2 separate regions of the Homo sapiens genome follow, and region 1 is linked to region 2. The links are contacts of gene promoters, found by promoter capture Hi-C in blood cells and fetal thymus (Javierre and others, 2016). All regions are on one chromosome and are shown on one strand. Each heading gives the region's core, a stretch centred on a gene start or on the middle of the fragment in contact. The rest is flanking DNA. Distances are from core to core; before and after follow the strand shown.

Region 1 (4,654 bases), core at 1-2,500, 260 kb before region 2:
CAGTTAAGAGCCCTGGGGCCGGCCTAATACCACCCTTCCTGGGCCCATGACCATCTATCACCGATTCTGCCCCTTCCCTTTTCCATCCTTTTACCTGCAGGTAAAGCTGCTTGATGTGCCAGGAGGGGGGCAGGGGGCCATCCCAGGTGTGCAGGTTGCCCATTCGCCCCCAGGCCAGGAAGGCAGGACCAGTAAAGAACTCATTGATCTCTGCCTGGGTCAGGCCCAAGGCCAGGTACACCTGAGGAAGAAGGGCCCACACATAGAAATATATTCATCTTCATTCATTCATTCATTCATTCAACAACCATTCACTCATTGCTTCTTTGTGCTGGGTGCTAGGGCTACTGAGACAAAATCCGAACGCTGCCATCAAGGAGCCCACAGCCCAGAGGAAAGAGACCTGTGAGTAGGTGAGTTCACTGTGTTGCCTTTGTCGCATGGGTGAGGAGATGGGGCACAAAGGGGCTTTCCCCCAACAGGAAGGCCTTAGAAGGCTTCATGGAGCAAGAGTGCCAGATGGAAGGGCAGGGCAACTGTGTGAAGAGCTTAAGCAGAGCCTGGAGCAGCCATTGCAGCACAGAAGCTTCCAGGGAGGCAGATCTAGAGCTGCCCATGAGTTGGATCCAAGGGACCAGGTGATTGGCTGCATAGGGGAGATGGGGGAAGGAGCCCCACTCCTCAAACTGGAAGCCTCAGTTTTTTTTTTTTTTTTTTTTAGACAGAGTCTCGCTCTGTTGCCCAGGTTGCTATTTCTTTGTATTTTAGTAGAGACGGGGTTTCACAATGTTGGCCAGGATGGTCTCGATCTCCTGAACTCCTGATCCGCCCGCCTAGGCCTCCCGAAGTGCTGGGATGACAGGCGTGAGCCACCGCGCCCGGCCGGAAGCCTCAGTTTTTAGGAGGCCCAAGCCACTGTGCACGCTGAAAGCACTTCTAGAGAGAGACACTGCGCCCATGCTGGGGGGCGGGTGAAAACACCTACGGTGGCTCCCGCCATAGAGGAGGGTGGGGAAGGGACAGTGGGCACGCACCCGCTGCCAGATGGCCTCCTGGCCGCTCCAGGCCAGTGCCAGGTTGATGCCATTCAGCGCCATCCAGTCTATCTCTCGCTCCCAGCGGGCCCAGTCCCACCACACGAAAGAGTAGCTTTGCGTGCACACATTCTGGTAATAGCGGTACCTGCGGGCAGTGTCATGAGCAGGGGCGCATCCCACCCTGGAGGGTCCACGGCCCTGGAACAAATCCCCCATCCCCCACCTAGAGGAGAGGGGAGGGGCTCCAAACTCGGCCCTTCTGCTGCACACTGGGACCCACCCCAGGTGGAGCTGAGACCAGGTACCGGGGCTGGGCTTCTGAGGCACTCGTCCCCTGCACTCTCCCAGGGCCCTCTAGCCTGGCGGGTATTTGGGTGGCATATTCCACTTTCATGCCACACTGCCAGAGCCCCTCCTCTGCACGGTGTTTTCCTGGAACGGGGAATCCCTGCCCCCACAGTCTAACAGATGGGCAGGGGAGGACAGCTGTGTGAACACATCACTCCATAGTGTGGCAGGCGCTGGAACACAGGCCTGTAGGGTGGGGGATGGAGGCGTCCTTCCTCAGTCCGCAGGTTCAAAGAGAAGGTGGGGGAGGAAGGCAAGAAAATTCACTCATCACCAATTGTGCACCACAAATTCTATGCCCATCATCGTGCAAATCCTCACAATAACACTGCACGGTAGGCGTCTTCTTTCCGTTTTTCAGGTGGGCCAGCCGAGGCTCTGAAAGGCAGAGTGGCTGGCTCAAGGCCACACAGCTGCTGGAGGCGGCGCAGCTGGGCCTTCCGGCCAGCGCTCCCCGCTCAGCCTCCCGATTTGGGTGGCAGCGGCTCCGGGAGGGGGTAAGCGCCTCGGGCGGACGCGGGGAAGCTTCGGGGCGGTACCTGTTGGGCGTGGCCTCGGTCAGCTCCCCCGGCACGGCTGGCAGTGGCCGCGGCAGGCGCAGCTGAGAGCCGGACCAGGCCACGTGGCAGCCACAGAAGTCGCGCAGGTAGCGGTGCAGCCCCGCGGCGGCCGCCACGCCCGTGGAGCCGCGCACCCGCACGCGCGCCGCGCCGCCGCCGCCCAGGCTGTAGGTGTCCAAGCCCGGCTTGGCAGCCAGAGCGCGCTCCACCGACACGGAGAAGTCGGCCGCGGGGCCTGGCCCCAGCAGCCGGGCCACGAGCGCCCGCACGGCCGCCGCCTCCCGGGCCTCGTCGCCTGCCGCGCCCCCGGCCCCGGCCAGGAGAAGGACCCCCACCGCCGCGGCCACCGCCACCGCCTCCATGGTCTCAGTCCTGCGGGTCCCGCGACGGCCAGGGGGTGGGGCGGCCCGCGTCCAATCAGCTGCCGGCCTCCGGCCACGTGGACCCGAAGGCTAAGCCCGGGCTCAGGGCCAGGAGTCGCGGCTTCCGGGTACCAGGATACTCCCTTGGGGGCGTCTCGTGACCGCACGCGGTGGGGAGCGTGTGACCCCGGCTCCAGGGCCGAAGGGGACCCGCTGGCCCTCACAGAGCGCCTTCGGGTAAAACGCGCTTTCACACGCAAATAACTTCCATCCAACCATCTAATAAATACACATTTGGAGTTTATTTTGTATCAGGCACTGCCATAGCTACTTCCCTACTGATGAACGAGAAGACGGTCCCTACCGTCCCCGTCAGGGAGGTGACCTAGAAACCAGATATTTAACGTAAGTAAGGATTTCCATCATAGTTGTGATGCTGCGAAGTAGTGCAGTAAGTAGCGAAGTAGCGAAGTAAGGTTTCCAAAGGAAGTGACTTTTAATCTGAAACTCAGGGATGAATAGGAATTGGCTAGAAGAGGGAAAGGAAGAGCCTTCCAGACAGAAGAAATGCATTTATTGAAGGCCCTGAGAAGGCAGAGAGCTTGCAGATTTGAGTAACTAACAGGCTAGGAGGTTCGAGGAGGGATGGGGCCATGTGAGCCCAGGCCGGCGGTGGAGCAGGGCTGGCGGGCACGTTAAAGGCTGTCCATTGGCGGCAGCAGCAGCAACATAACAGGAGCTGTCATTTTGTCAGAAGTTTCCAACCAGAGCGACTCCATCTTGAACAGGGGCTGGGTAAAATGAGGCAGAGACCTGCTGGGCTGAATTCCCAGGAGGTTAGGCCTTCGTCACAGGATGAGACAGGAGGTCAGCACAAGATAAAAGGTCACAAGACCCCGCTGATAAAACAGAATGCAGCAAAGAAACTGGTCAAAACCTGCCAAAACCAAGACAGGAAGGTGACCTCTGATCGTCCTCACTGCTCATTATACGCTAATTATAATGCATTAGTATGCTAAAGACACTCCTAGCAGCGCCAGGCAGTTTACAAATGCCATGGCAACGTCCAGAAGTTACCCTATATGGTCTAAACAGTGGAGGAACCTTCAGTTGGGGGGGATCCCCACCCCTTTTCTGAAAAATTCATTACTAACCCACCCCTTGTTTATCATATAATCAAGAAATAACCATAAAAATAGCCAACCTTAGGCCAGGAGCGGTGGCTTACGCCTGTAATCCCAGCACTCTGGGAGGCTGAGGCTTGCAGATCACCTCAAGTCAGGGGTTTGAGACCAGCCTGGCCAACATACAGTGAAACCCCGTCTGTACTAAAAATACAAAAGTTAGCCAGGTGCTGGGCGCGGTGGCTCACGCCTGTAATCCCAGCACTTTGGGAGGCCAAGACGGGCGGATACGAGGTCAGGAGATCAAGACCCTCCTGGCTAACACGGTGAAACTCCATCTCTACTAAAAATACAAAAAATTAGCCGGGCGTGTTGGCGAGCGCCTGTACTCCCAGCTACTCGGGAGGCTAAGGCAGGAGAATGGCGTGAACCGGAGAGGCGGAGGTTGCAGTGAGCCAAGATCACACCACTGCACTCCAGCCTGGGGGACAGAGCAAGACTCCCTCTCAAAAAAAAAAAAAAGAAAAAAAGTTAGCCAGGCTTGGTGGCACACGCCTGTAGTCCCAGCTACTTGGGAAGCTGAGGCAGGAGAATCGCTTGAACGCTGGAGGTGGAAGTTGCAGTGAGCCAAGATCGTGCCATTTGCATTCCAGCCTGGATGACAGAGCGAGACTCCATATCAAAAAAACAAACAAACAAACAAAAAAAGTTGAAAGAGGCCTGGAATCAGATATCAACTTTAGATACTAGGGAAGTATGATTTTTTTTTTTAATCTCAGCTCACGGGAACCTCAGCCACCCAGGTTCAAGCCATTCTCCTGTCTCAGTCTCCTGAGTAGCTGGGATTACAGGCACGTGCCACCAAGCCCAGTTAACCTTTGTAGGGATGGGATTTCACCATGTTGTCCAGGCTGGTCTCGAACTCTTTTTTTTTCTTAAACATTTTATTCATTTTATAGAGAGATTTCTTGTTTGCTTTTGTTCTGATCATTAGGAGAGTGGTTGAGGAGTATTGAATCCATCACTACTTTGATGACACAGGTAAGAGTCCAGATTCACATTTCCAGGTACCAGGAGTTCCCTCTAAATGCCACAATCAAGTCAGCCTTCATTTACATTTCTTTCTGCTGAACACAGCAATGCCCATTGGTATCTCTGAAGCGTAATCGCATCTTAAGTAAAGCAGCTGTTTGGAATTTAACACTCCCCTTCTTTTTTGTCTT
Region 2 (5,302 bases), core at 407-2,906:
CGGTGGCTGATGCCTGTAATCCCAGCACTTTGGGAGGCTGAGGCGGGCAGATTACGAGGTCAGGAGTTCGAGACCAGCCTGGCCAACATGGTGAAACCCCGTCTCTACTACAAAAATACAAAAATTAGCCGGATGTGGTGGTGTGCGCCTGTAATCCCAGCTACTCAGGAGGCTGAGGAAGGAGAATCACTTGAACCCAGGAGGTGGAGGTTGCCGTGAGCTGAGACCGCACCATTTCACTCCAGCCTGGGCAACAGAGAGAGACTCCGTCTCAAAAAAAAAAAAAAAGAAAAGAAAAAGAAAAGATAAAAGAGAAATATGGAGAACATGGAGCACCTGAGTGTCAAAACATCATGGGCAGTAACTGTCAGGGAGATTGCCAGAGAGCTCGGGGTTGGTTGGCGCATCCATCCTGCTTCCTGCTTCCTTCTCTGGCCTCCAAGCTCCCTGAACCTACTCTGTGCAAAGCACTGTGCCAGGTGTTGGCCCAGAGTATGGGACTGCAGCAGTGGCCTGGGTAGCGGAGAAGGGTTTTTTGACCAGCTGGAGACCTTTGTGGCTGGTGTCATTCTGGAGGTGAAGAGAAGGCCGCTGGAAAGAGCTGCCCAGGGAGGACTATGGGAGAACTTGCAGCTCTGGGCCATCTCTGGACATGAACGTTTTGCATACACACAGGGGAGCTCTGTGTGTCTGAGTGGGGGCGGGAGGGGTCCTTCTCTCTCTTTTGGCCCCTGCAGCTTGGCTTCTGGAGCTTTCCTATGTCTTGCTTTAGTGCTAGCCCTTGGAGGGTTGCCAGGGAAACCGCTGGCCAGCTCCGGGAGATAGACGTAGCAGAGGAAAGGAGAGTGGGTGACTCAGCCTGGCTTCCCACAACCGCAACCCCCTCCTCAGCACGTGGAAAGGATCTGGGGGACCCCCTTCCCCTGGATCCTACAGATGACCCTGTTTATTCTTTCTTCTCTAGAGAGAGCAGTCCCTCCCGCAGCTCTGACTGGTGGGAGCCAGCCAGATTTTCCCAGGAAGGGAACCGGCCCCAGGCGCCCCGTCCCCCGTAGGTTCACCCTGGAACTCGGACAGGTGAATTCGGCCTGGGCGAATGTGAATTCCTGCCGTGCCCATGCAGGCGGCAGGAGCCCTGGCTGAGACGCCCTCCCGGGGGCAAACCCAGGATAATTATTGATCGGGGCCCCTGTGGACTTCTGACCTCGGCCTCGGCGGGAGAGGACCCGGAACGCGGGCCTGGGCTCCCAGGGAGAGAGGTGGGCGGGCCGCGGAGGGGGCCAACCAAAACGACCACGACAGTGCGCCCTAGCCCTGCTAGTGGTGGTCGACCCAACCCAAACAAAGCAGCATGTGCTTGCGGTGCGGCGTCGGCTAGGGAGCCGAGCCGGGAAGACACCCCACCGCCGCAGAAAGGGGGTGCGCGCGGCGCCGGCACCGGCACCGCCGAGCGCGCCGCCACCTCGGGTGTGCCGAGGGGGTCCGGGTCCTTCAAGGGCGGTCGCGGAGGGGGCGCGAGGGACAGCGGGCTAGCGAGCGCGCGCCGGGCGGAACCAGGAAGCGGGGCGCGCTCCGGGTTGCCAGCGGCGCGCGTCCCTGGGCCTCCGCGCGTGAGCGGCGCGCGCGCCCCCGCGGGCCCCGGCGGGAGGAGAGTCGGCGGCCGGAGCCGTCACCCCGGGCGGGGACCCAGCGCAGGCAACTCCGCGCGGCGGCCCGGCCGAGGGAGGGAGCGAGCGGGCGGGCGGGCAAGCCAGACAGCTGGGCCGGAGCAGCCGCGGGCGCCCGAGGGGCCGAGCGAGGTAGGAGCTGCGGGGCGAGCCCTGGGCCCGGGGCCGGGGGAGCCAGGCCGGGGAGCCAGCCCGGGCGGGGCCCGCGCTCCAGCCGCTCAGCCGCCCGTCAGGGCCGCGCCGCCGCCATCACTCCCGGGCCGCGGTGGTTGCGCGCTGGGCGAGGGGCGCGCGCGGGGAGAGGGGGTCCGGGTTGGCTGCCGGGGAGGCTGAGGGCAATGCGGGGTGCGCGAGGGGGACTTGCGAACGCCGCGGCGCCGCGGGGGGCGTGCGCTTTAAAGGCTGCGTGCGCGTGTGCTGAGTGGGTGTGTGGGGACCCCGCGCCGACCCCATAGGAGCTCAGGGGGCTGCTGTCAGCCGCCTCACACCTTCACGTTGCAATTCCGAATATCCCCAGCCGTCTTCCTTGCTTTAACTTCTTTCTTTCAAAAGAGGTTCCCGGGACTCCGGGGATGGGATGAGCCTGCGGGGGTGCCTGGTGCGGTGGGGGGTATTAGCAAAGCTTCAAGAAACAGGGCCTTATAAGGAATCAAGACAACAAATACGAACGTTTCGATAAGACTCTGGGGGGCGGGATCCCACATCAGGACCCGCCAGGCCTGGGCTCGTGCGTGTGGCCGTGGGATGCAGTGTGCTTTTTCTTTCTAGTCAGGGATAAAGGGTTAAAAGTGCTCCTGGTGTCGGGGGGTAGATATGGAGAGTCGGAAGGGGAGTTGTATCACAAAAGCTGGTCTGAGGCTAAAGGAATCTGGCAAGATGGTCGGGGTGAACAAAGAGGAAAGAACTCACACGGAGCAAGAGGCGGTTGCAAACACTTGTAGCCAGCAGTGATGGAAAAGCCAAAGAAGAAAACCAAGTGTCAGCTTTTAGAAAGACGGGATTAATGAAAAGCACAAGAATTTTAAAGACTAAAAGAGATACCGATTCTCTCTTTGCCAAAGAGCCAGAGTCAGTTCTTTTCTTCTTGGTCCCTGTGATCCCGCCATACCTCGTATCAAATAAATAGTGCCAAAAGTGGGTCAAAGAATGTTAGAGCTGGAAAGGAACCCAGCGATGATGCCATTCTTTTATTGTACAAATGAGGAAACTGAGGCCCAGATAGGTGGAGTAAGTGGCCTGCTCAGGTGACACGGCTGTTTGTTGAGTATCCAGGGATTGAAACTTCAAGGACTCTGAGATTCGTGCTCTTCCCAAAGCATCGTGCAGTATACAGATCTTTGCCTAGATACAATTCCATACATTTTCTCTGCAGTGTCCTCAGGGAATGCCCTTTGAAAGGGCCAGCGTGACACTGAATATCATACTTGGGCTTATGTCATTTTTTTCAGTCTTCAAGTGGTGTTTATGGTCTGCTTGGATCTTAGGTTTCCAAAGCTGTTGGATAGCCGCCTGGGCCATAATAAGCTTTCAGCTGTTGGGTCTACATTATTTCAAATAATTTTGTTATCTTTCAATTAAGGTAATAGAACTGTGCCTCTCTCCCCAACATTCTATTGTTGTCCATTTGCTTATGTTATATTGCGTTATGTTCATTGCCTGTGAGTTCCTAGGTGAGGATGTATTTTATTGAGTGTGCCTTTCATGTTTTAAAATTTCATTTTGTAACACTGTAAATATTGGAGTGGTTCTGATCACTTCAAATGGGGAGAATCTTATTGATTGATTTTATTTTAAGGCTTTGGGTTGTTTTGTTTATTCATTTGGGTACCAGTTTCCATCTCATGGAAGATCACAGTTGTTAGAATGGACATGGCTAAATAAGAGAAGGGGCTGCTGATTTTAAGAAAAACTTCCTATGTGACAATTTGTGGTATCTGTTACGTTTAATTCAAACAAGTCCACACCTTGGGTCAGGTAAGCGCGTTATCTAGGAGATGACTTGTTTGCTACTGTAGCCTCTGGAAGATGAAATTTCAAGCTCCAGATTGAGACACAGGGAAGGAATGGAGAGGTTTTTTTTTTTTTTTTTTTTTTTTTTGTAAAGCAAACCATCAGAAAAAAAAAGTTGATTTCTATCACCAGTAGTTTGGTTATTGCATAACTTGAAGCTAAACTCTGCACAAAATAATCTTTGCTATATACCCAACTAGGTAAACTATCCCACCTTCTCATCAGTTCTCACCTTTTCGGTGCTTGTATTTTTTGCCCACGGGATATTAATATGGATTGTGTTCAGAAATTTAAGGTGTGTACTTCATAGTATGTATGATTGTAGGAGAAAAATGTGCTATCATCGTTTGGAGTGTTACAACATAAATATTTTGGTCAACACTTCCTATCCTGCTCTGACTTTTCATCTCATCTCCATTTTCTTCCTCTCTTGATTGTTTTTATGTCATTTACATATGTAAAAGCCACATCAAGACTAAAGTTGCCATTTATTACTTTTTGATACTTAAGTCGAGTTTTTTCAAATCATAGTATTGTTAGTATTCAAATTGTCTGTAATTTTTGTTAGGCTTATATATTATGAATCCATTTGTTGTGGTTTATTTGGCTTGTTGTTATGTAGGTAGGTGACACAGGTAGTCTTATTGTAAAAGGAAGACGTTATAGATAGGTAAATAACATGCTCAAGATTAGATGCAGGTTACAGGTGGAATCGAAGGAAGCCTAACTATTTTCGTGCCCTACAAAAATGTCTGTATCTCATAAAGTTATTCACAGATTTCTGGACATTCTATCTGTGACACATTTTTTCCCTTTCTGTTAAGAGTGCAGATTACTGCATTATTCCTACAAAAGGAAGCAAAATAACCCTAGTTTGTATGATTTTTCTGATAATTTGAAACTTATTCGTTTAAAAAGCTATCTGGCAATTCCAGGTTACTGGACTCTTGAGAAGAATATCCTTTTATTTTGATACTATAAAATATCAAAGTATCAAAATACTTTAACTGTGCAACTTAATAAAAATAATGCTTCAAAGTTAGCTCTGCACTATCGCTGTCCTCAAATGTGTGGTATTTAAAGGAAGAAAATGTTTTTAATTCTGAGCTTTGTGAATAGAACTCTTCTAAAATCAGAAGTTTTTTTTTTTCTCCTGCAGTGTTGGAAACACAACAGTTTTATGCTTATTTCTGGGAATAAGAAAGTCAAACTTAACAATCTAGTTTCCATTGATCAGACAGTTTTTGTACTTAAATTTAAGTTCTAAGCATCAGAGTGATAAATACTTTTTAAAATTGTATTCACTGTTAATTATAGTGGCCTTATTTGAAGTAAAATCTTGACATTGGGTGTTTTATTAATGATGATCCTCTGCTACTGAAAAGCCTATGTCAGTTTGGAGAAGATTTTGCACATCTAAATCTATGCTGTTTTTACTAATCAAAAGAGAAGAGCAATTTACAGGTGTTAGATTTTTAGTTGGTTGAATGAGACCCTCACTTTTGATGGTTTCAGAGTTGAAGTGACGTTTTATTACTTTTGTTAGTTTGGGTCACACCCATCACTTCCTTGGAAGGTATCTTTGAGGTTTGGTTTCCTTTTTTTTTAAATGGTAATATTGGGGT

Evidence for each region. The method cuts DNA at HindIII sites, captures the fragments that hold promoters and counts their contacts. A CHiCAGO score of 5 or more calls a contact.
Region 1: a contact is called between a fragment that was not itself captured here and the fragment with the promoter of STAT5B in region 2, in 2 of 17 cell types (fetal thymus and endothelial precursors). The highest score is 7.8, in fetal thymus.

What each region holds. Positions count from the first base shown.
Region 1 is chr17:42,533,926-42,538,579 of GRCh38, reverse strand. It overlaps NAGLU (N-acetyl-alpha-glucosaminidase), which reads right to left and starts at 2,339. Exons shown (of 6, transcript NM_000263.4): 1 at 1,925-2,339; 2 at 1,035-1,182; 3 at 95-241. The coding sequence starts at 2,307. It also overlaps the pseudogene PTP4A2P1. RefSeq lists silencers at 1,837-1,906, 2,027-2,436 and enhancers at 1,296-2,033, 2,547-2,626. The HindIII fragment of the contact is 1,324 bases long and covers 589-1,912 here.
Region 2 is chr17:42,272,745-42,278,046 of GRCh38, reverse strand. It overlaps STAT5B (signal transducer and activator of transcription 5B), which reads left to right and starts at 1,656. Exons shown (of 19, transcript NM_012448.4): 1 at 1,656-1,799. RefSeq lists a silencer at 1,414-2,023. The HindIII fragment of the contact is 9,010 bases long and covers 1-2,291 here.